Linked DNA regions of Homo sapiens: region 1 is linked to region 2. The links are contacts of gene promoters, found by promoter capture Hi-C in blood cells and fetal thymus (Javierre and others, 2016). All regions are on one chromosome and are shown on one strand. Each heading gives the region's core, a stretch centred on a gene start or on the middle of the fragment in contact. The rest is flanking DNA. Distances are from core to core; before and after follow the strand shown.

Region 1 (3,887 bases), core at 976-3,475, 530 kb before region 2:
CATGTGAACACTCTCATGGGGGGCTCTGAGGGACAGCGCCCACTAGGTCTTCAAGGTTGGAGTGGGGAAGAAGGAAGATGTGCTGTGGTCAAAAGAACAATCCCTTCCCTGTCCCTGCCCAAGATGTCCATGTCCTAATCCCTGGGATTTTGCAAACTTGATTAAGAATCTTGAGGCTGGGCGTGTTGGCTCATGCTTGTAATCCCAGCACTTTGGAAGGCTGAGGCAGGCAGATCACCTGAGGTTGGGAGCTTGAGACCAACCTGACCAATGTGGAGAAACTCCATCTCTTCTAAAAATATAAAATTAGCCAGGCATGGTGGGTAATTTTGTGCCTACAGGCTAATTACACACCTGTAATCCCAGCTACTCAGAAAGCTGAGGCAGGAGAATCACTTGAACCCAGGAAGTGGAGGTTACAGTGAGCCAAAATCACGCCATTGTACTCCAGCCTGGGTAACAAGAGGGAAACTCCGTCTCAAAAAAAAAAAAAAAATCTTGAAATGGGCAGATGATCCTGGATTATCTGGGTGGGCTTAATATAATCACAAGGATCCTGACAAAAAAGAGGCAGGAGGCCAGGCGTGGTGATGTGCACCTATAGTCCCAGAGCTTTGGGAGGCCAAGGCAAGAGGATCGCTGGAGCCCAGCAGTTCCAGGCTGCAGTAGGTTATAATCACACCACTGTACTCCAGCCTGGATGACAGGGTGAGACCCTGTCTCTGTTCAAAAAACAAAAAGACAGAAGAAAGTCAGAGACAGAGGAGACATAAAGATGAATGTGAAGGTCAGATCATGTGGGGCCATGAGCCAAGGAACATGGGCAGCCTCTATAAACTGGAAAAGGCAAAGCGCTAGATCCCTCCTGCAGCCTCCAGAAGGATTGTAGCTCTGCCAGTGCTTCATTTTAGAACTTCCAGAACTGGAAAAAAATGAATTTGTGTTGTTAAAACCAATACATTTGTGGCAATTTGTTATAATAGCAACAAGAAATGGATACAGGTGCTAAGAAGATAGCAAAATGCATGCCCACTGTACCTTCTCTCTCCTCCTTCCTGGTCCTATCTATCTGTTATGGGCTGAATTGTGTCCTTCCAAAATTCACATGTTGAAGTCCTAACCTCCAGTACTTGGGAATATGATACTGTTTGGAGATAGAGTCTTTAAAGAGGTGATTAAGGTAAAATGAGGTCATAGAGGTGAGCCCTAATTCAATATGACTGGTATCCTTGTAAGAACAGGAGATTAGGATGCAGACAGGTACAGGCGAAGACCATGTGAGGCCACAGCAAGAAGGTGGCCCCCAACAAGCCAAGGAGAGAGCCCTCCAAAGAAATCAACCTGCCGACACTGATCTCAAACTTCTAACCTGCAGAATTGTGAGAAAATCAATTTCTGTTGTTTAAGCCAGCTAGTCTGTGGTGTTCCTTATGGCAACCCTAGCAAACTAATACATGATCCTTCAAGGCAGAGGTGAAAATCTGCCTCCTTTCTCAAACTGCCTTTGATCAGCCTGCTCCCAGAGCAGCCATTGTCTCAGAATACCTAGTGGCCAAGAGTTTAACCCAAGGATCACAAACTCAAATGCCTATAGGGGCCAGGAAGAACTAACATGAGTGAAGTGCTTGACTATAAGAAACTGTATTTGCCAATTGATATGGTTTGGATCCGTGTCCCTACCCAAACCTCATGTTCAATTGTAATCCCCAGAGTTGGAGGTGGGGCCTGGTGGGAGGTGATTGGATTATAGGGGTGGATCCTTCACGAAGGGTTTAGTACCAACCCTTGGGTGCTGTTCTCGTGATAGAGTTCTCATGAGAATTGGTTATTCTCAACAGGTTATTTACTGGTTGTGTAACCAGTTACATGAGAACTGGCTAGCACTTACCCACCTCTCTCTCTTGCTCCTTCTCCCACCATGAGATGCCTCACTCCGCCCCCTTCATCTTCTGCCATGATTGTAAGTTCCCTGAGGCCTCCCAGGAGCTGATGCCGTCATGCTTCCTGTACAGCCTGCAGAACCATGATCCAGTTAAACCTCTTTTTAAAATAAAAATAAATTACCCAGTCTCAGGTATTTCTTTACAGCAGTGTGAGAATGGACTAATCTACCAATTAAACATAATCAGTATACACTATCACAAAAATGACATTCACTCCCTATCTCCCTGTCTGCTTTTAGTTTTGCCACATTTTATCAAGGATGAATACAAGGAAAATCCTCTCTTCCTGACCGTTCAGTGGGGAAAAGTGGCAGTGCTGGGGTGAGAGGCACCTGCTTTTATTTTTTGTGTTAAGGAACCTACAGGAGAGGTGCGAGCTGAGCTGGAAATTGCAGGCCCTGCCCTGTGCCAAGGGGCAGTTGCTACTTAGCTCTAGCCAACTGTTACCAGGGACAAGGACAGGCCAGACCAGCCAGAGTTTTCCAATTTTTCAAAAAAACTGAAAATATACATTTTTAAAGTGAAATTTGATTTTAAGACATTGATAACTAATTTTTTAAAAATTAACTGTGTTGGCCACCTCACATCCATTACAACGGCTACTAGTAAAAAACAAAACCAAACAAAAACAAAATAGAAAATAAGTGTTGGTGAGGATGTAGAGAAATTGGAGCGCTGTTGGTGGGAATGGAAAACGGTGCAGCTGCTGTAGAAAACAGTATGGCAGTTCCTCAAACATTTAAAAATAGAATTAGCATATGATCCAGCAATTCCACTTCTGGGTATATACTCAAAAGAACTGAAAGCAGAGTCTTGAAGATATATTTGTACACCCATATTCATAGCAGCATTATTCATGAGAGCTAAAATGCGGATGCAACCCAAGTGTCCATTGACAAATGAATAGATAAGCAAAATGTGACACACATATATATATATCACATGATGGAATATTATTTAGCCTTACGAGGAGGGAAATGCTGATATATGCAACACAGATGAATCCTCAGGACATTCTGCTAAATGAAATAAGTCAGTAATAGAAGGATAAATTACTGTTCGATTCCATTCGTATGAGCTGCAATACTTAGTCAAAACCACAGAGACAGTGAAATGGTGGTTGCCAGGAAGTGGGTGGGGGGCAAGAATGGGGAATTAGTGATTAATGGGTACAAAGTTTCAGATTCGCAAGATGAAAAAAGTTCTAGGCTGGGTGCAGTGGCTCACGCCTGTAATCCCAGCACTTTGGGAGGCCGAGGTGGGTAGATCACCTGAGGTCAGGAGTTTGAGACCAGCCTGGCCAACATGGTGAAACCTCATGTCCACTAAAAATACAAAAAATTATCTGGGCACAGTGGCAGGTGCCTGTAGTCCCAGCTACTTGGGAGGCTGAGACAGGAGAATCGCTTGAACCTGGGAGGCGGAGGTTGCAGTGAGCCGAGATCGCGCCACTGCACTCCAGCCTGGGTGACAGAGTGAGACTCCATCTTAAAAAAAAAAAAAAATTATGAAAAAAGTTCTGGAGGTAGACGGTGGGGATGGCTGCACACCAATATGAATGTACTTAGTGCCACTGAATTTCACACTTAAAAATGGTTGAAATAGTAAATTTAATGTTATATGTATTTTACCAGAATTTTAAAAATTGGAAAATGACAACTGAGCTGGCTAAGATTGTTATTTTGAAACAAGACACATTTTTTAAGGCCTAGCTTCAGCTCATAGTCCACCAGTTTGCAACCTCTGTTTTAACACTTCCTTGTTTTCTAGTCATTTCATGTGTTCATGTCTTACCCAACTAGAAGGTAAAATTCCCTGGAAGTAGGAACTGTGTCTTAACCTTCTTTGGTATCTTTCAAAGTGGGTACTTGGAGCTTTGCAGTGGGCAAATCACAGTTGCCCTGCTGAATACTGGATGATACCCACACACTCATAACTAATTAT
Region 2 (4,359 bases), core at 479-2,978:
AGGTGTGCGCCACCACGCCCGACTAATTTTGTATTTTTAGTAGAAACGGGGTTTCTCCATGTTGGTCAGGCTGGTCTCGAACTCCCGACTTCAGATGATCCGCCCACCTCAGCCTCCCAAAGTGCTGGGATTACAGGTGTGAGCCACCGCGCCCAGCCGCGACCCACTTTTAATGATAGAAATACACATCGCTTTTTCAGATATACTAACTGGACTTAAAGCAAAGTTTAAAAACAATCATCGGCCGGGCGCGGTGGCTCACGCCTGTAATCCCAGTACTTTGGGAGGCCGAGGCGGGTGGATCAGAGGCGGGTACATCACGAGGTCAGAGTATCAAGACCATCCTGGCCAACATAGTGAAACCCCACCTCTACTAAAAATACAAAAAACAAAAACAAAAACAAAAACAAAAAAACTAGCTGGGTGTGGTGGCTCGTGTCTGTAATCCCAGCTACTCGGGAGGCTGAGACAGGAGAATCGCTTGAACCTGGAGGCGGAGGTTGCAGTGAGCCGAGATCGCGCCACCGCACTCCAGCTTGGCGACAGTGAGACTCCCTCTCCCTCTCAAAAAAAAAAAAAAAAAAAGAAAAAAAAATCGAGTATCACCAACCACACAGCAGAAATGGTTCAAAAAAGCTCAAAATCGAAGGTCCATTTACAAATTCTAGCGGTACTAAACCCTAAAGGCCGTAATTTTAGGTCTTTCTGCTTTTGCTTTCCGGTTACTTTTTTAAAGGCTGACCTACTTACTGAAGATTATGGGACAACCTGGCAACATTCGTACTGCACAAAAATGGTATCTGCCCGAGTTGGAAGAATTATTTCTTAACAAAAGAGCTATCTATCGGAAGCTTGGACATGCCCCCTGCAGTGAGAACCCTGGGGCCGTTCCATTTCTTCTGAAAAGATCCAGGCCCACAGGCAGCGACGACCCTGGCCAGATTTGCCGTGAGAGAAAAGTGAAAGTGGGGGGAGTCATTCTGTCCGTCCCGTGAAAGCACGGGAGTTAGTGACGGGATGCAGGCCGGGACTTGCGGCCACTAGCCGAGGGTCGGCCTCTCCCACGTCTCACTCGTGCCGGCGTTAGCCGTGCGCCCTGGAAGCCCCGGCGCTGCGCGCGGCTCTCCCGGGCGGGGAAAGCTGCAGCGCCGCGGAAGCTTTCCCTGCAGGTTAAAGGTCAGAGGCGCTGCGGTAAGCGCAGCTGGAAAGGGGGTTGTGTGCTCCAAGCCGCTCGCCGTCCGGCCCCGCGTCCCGCCGCCCCTGTCGCCCCCGCCTCTCCCGGGGCCCCGCGCATTTGGCGCCGCAGCTCCGCGCTCCCAGCCGAAGTCGAGCAGCCCCAAGCGGCGCTCCCAAACTGAACGGCTCCGCTGGCCGCAGGACGCCGGCCGGGGGATGCGCTGGGACCGCGTCCGTTGGCGGTTGGGGTGAAGGGCACCCCCTGGCCCCCGCCCCCGACGCGGTCGCTGGTGTCCCCACCCAGCGTTTCTTACCGGCGCTTTTGCGCCCTGCTGACTCCGGCGTCGGGCGCCGACGCGACAGTCCCGCGGCTGCCACTCGTGGATTGGGGGGCGCTCCGGGAAGAGAGGTTGAAGAAAGCCGACGGGATGTGGGATCGAGATTCACGGCGGAGAGAGCTTTCTGTGTTTGGGTATTTCTGGGGGGTCAGAGTTCGTGACCTCTTTCTCGGCTCGGCGGCGCGCTATCCCGCCAGCGCCTGCGCATTAGCAACGGGGAGAAGCGGCGAGAGGAGGTCGTGACGTTCCCAGGGTGGGGTGGAGGGATCGGAGGGCCGAGCAGCGGCTCTGTGAGTCCACTGCCCCCTTTTGGCTTGGAGGCAGAGTGCCCCGCCAGAGCTACGCGTTCCCAGCCAGGTAATTTTTGAAGCCACGTGCAAAGGTTTAAGCATCGTTTGCCAAAGGTGGGCATTAGGGGAGGTTTTGAGTCAACGTTTTAGATTTGAGTAATAAATAACCCTCTGGGTCTTAGGCATATCTGTTTCTAATTTCTGGAAAACTGGGCTCTGGGGTAGAGTCCAATCATATTTAAACTTTTTTTTTTTTGTATTACACTTTAAGTTCTAGAGTACATGTACACAACGTGCAGGTTCGTTACATATGTATACATGTGCCATGTTGGTGTGCTGCACCCATTAACTCGTCATTTACATTAGTAAGCTTTATATATAATGACAAGCTGAGGCCGACTCATGCAAATGGTAAGGCAAAGTTTCACTTATAAACTGTTGTGAGTAAAGAGACATAATGGCTAAACAGGGCAAGAATATAATCACTAGAGACTGGGCACGGTAGCTCACGCCTGTAATCCCAGCAAGTTGGGAGGCCGAGGCGGACGGATCACTTGAGCCCGGTTGTTTGAGGCCAGCCTGGCCAACATGGCGAAAACCCGTCTCTACAAAAAAATTAGCCAGTCCTGGTGGCGCGTGCCTGTCGTCCCAATTACTTGGAGGCTGAGGTGGGAGGATCACCTGAGTCAAGACGGCAGTGAGCCAAGATCACACCACCGCACTCCAGCCTGGGTGACACAATGAGTCTTTCTCTCTCTCTCTATATATACACACACACATATATATGTATATTCCACATCCTCTCTATAATATATATATTATTATATATTGAGGATTATCCTCAATGGCCGTTTTTTGTCTGTTTTGCTCAGTGATGTATTACCAAGCACATAGGACAATGCCTGCTATTCAATAATGATGTATGAAATGAAAGCCAGGCAAGTGGCTGCTGGGAGGCCAAGGAAAGATCACTTGGGGCCAGCAGTTGGAGACCGGCTTGGGCAAGATAACAAAACCCTGCCTCCACAAAAAAAATTTTTCAAATTGTGAAATGAAGAGACATTGGTGGAACATCGCATTCTGACAGTGGCCACCTGTAGTGGCAAGGTGTGGCAGGAATAACTGCCCTGTGTGCAAAGTACTCTGCGCTTTAGATTTTGAAGCATTCTTGAAATTTCTAGTTTTTTTTTAAATCTCCTTTGTTTTGTCATGAAATTTCTATTTTATCTAGCTTAGGTCGGCACTGTAGGAAAGCAGCCACAAACTCAGGGCAGAAATCCAAGGAAGGAAAAACAAACGTTTGCTGGGAATGAGAACATCTCTGTTATTTCTCTCTGGAACTAGGCAGACGGACAGAGATCAAGGCATGAAACAATCCCTAACAAGTAAAAATATGCTTTATCCCTCATTAAAAATCCACCTCTGCTGAGCACAGTGGCTTCTGCCCCCAGAGCCTTGGGAGGCTGAGGTAGGAGGCTTGCTTGATGCCAGGAGTTTGAGACCAGCCTGGGCAACATAGTGAGACTCCATCTCTTAAAAAAAAAAGAAAAAAAAAAGGCATGGTGGTGCAGGCCTGTATTCCTAGTTACTGAGGAGGCTGAGGTGGGAGGATTGCTTAAGCCCAGGAGTCTGGTCCAGTGTTGGCACCATTGCATTCCAGCCTGGGCGAGAGTGAAACTTTTTTTTTTTTCCAACCTCTACCTTTTAGCATTATTTGTTGTGTATTTGGTTTGGTTTTAAGGGAGACCCCTGCCAATACCATAAGCTGGTCCCAAAGGTGAAAATTATGAAAGTATAGTCACGTCAGGGATATGTTCTGAGAAATGAGTCCTTAGGCAATTTCATTTTACTCTCATCATAGAGCGTACTTATACAAACCTAGATGGTCTAGCCTAGACACACCTAGGCTGTATGTTGTAGTCTGTTGCTCTTAAGTCACAAACCTAGGACAAACCCGTACAGCATGTTACTGAATACTGTAGGCAGTTGTAACATAATGGTAGGTATTTGTGTATCTAAATATATATAAACATAGAAAAAGTAAACTAAGTCCTTTTAAAAAAAAAGTGCAGTAAAAATAGGGGATTATAATCTTATGCAACCATTATTGTATATGTGGTCTGTCCTTGACTGAAATATTGTTATGCAGTGCATGACTGCACTATAGGCCTAATGGATACAGGCAATCTGAGACCTCTTCACTATTCTTGGTGGAGAATATGTATGCCTATAGTGATGCTTGTGGTTACCCCTTATCACCCAATTAATTCACTTAAGTCACAATAAGTTGACTTGTTAAAACTTGGAAGTAGAAGCCATTTTAGGAACATCATTTGTAGGTGAAGAAGCGTTTCCATTAATTATGCTTCAGGAAAAGAGGTAAATGAAGTTTATTTATTTTTGAGACAGAGTCTCACTCTGTTGCCCAGGCTGGAGTGCAGTGGCTTGATCTCAGCTCACTGCAACCTCCGCCACCTGGGTTCAAGAGGTTCTTGTGCCTCAGCCTCCCGAGTAGCTGGGATTACAGGCGCACACCACAATGTCTGGCTAAGCTT

Evidence for each region. The method cuts DNA at HindIII sites, captures the fragments that hold promoters and counts their contacts. A CHiCAGO score of 5 or more calls a contact.
Region 1: a fragment that was not itself captured here is called in contact with the fragment with the promoter of NR2C1 in region 2 in 1 of 17 cell types (endothelial precursors); the score reaches 5.1 in endothelial precursors.

Annotation. Positions count from the first base shown.
Region 1 is chr12:94,541,772-94,545,658 of GRCh38, forward strand. No RefSeq gene overlaps it. Among named protein-coding and RNA genes, the nearest start is that of MIR5700, 18 kb to the right of the region's middle. The HindIII fragment of the contact is 5,199 bases long and covers 1-3,887 here.
Region 2 is chr12:95,071,890-95,076,248 of GRCh38, forward strand. It overlaps NR2C1 (nuclear receptor subfamily 2 group C member 1), which reads right to left and starts at 1,729. Exons shown (of 14, transcript NM_003297.4): 1 at 1,491-1,729. RefSeq lists a silencer at 1,147-1,426 and enhancers at 1,316-1,816, 1,507-1,826. The HindIII fragment of the contact is 1,017 bases long and covers 1,156-2,172 here.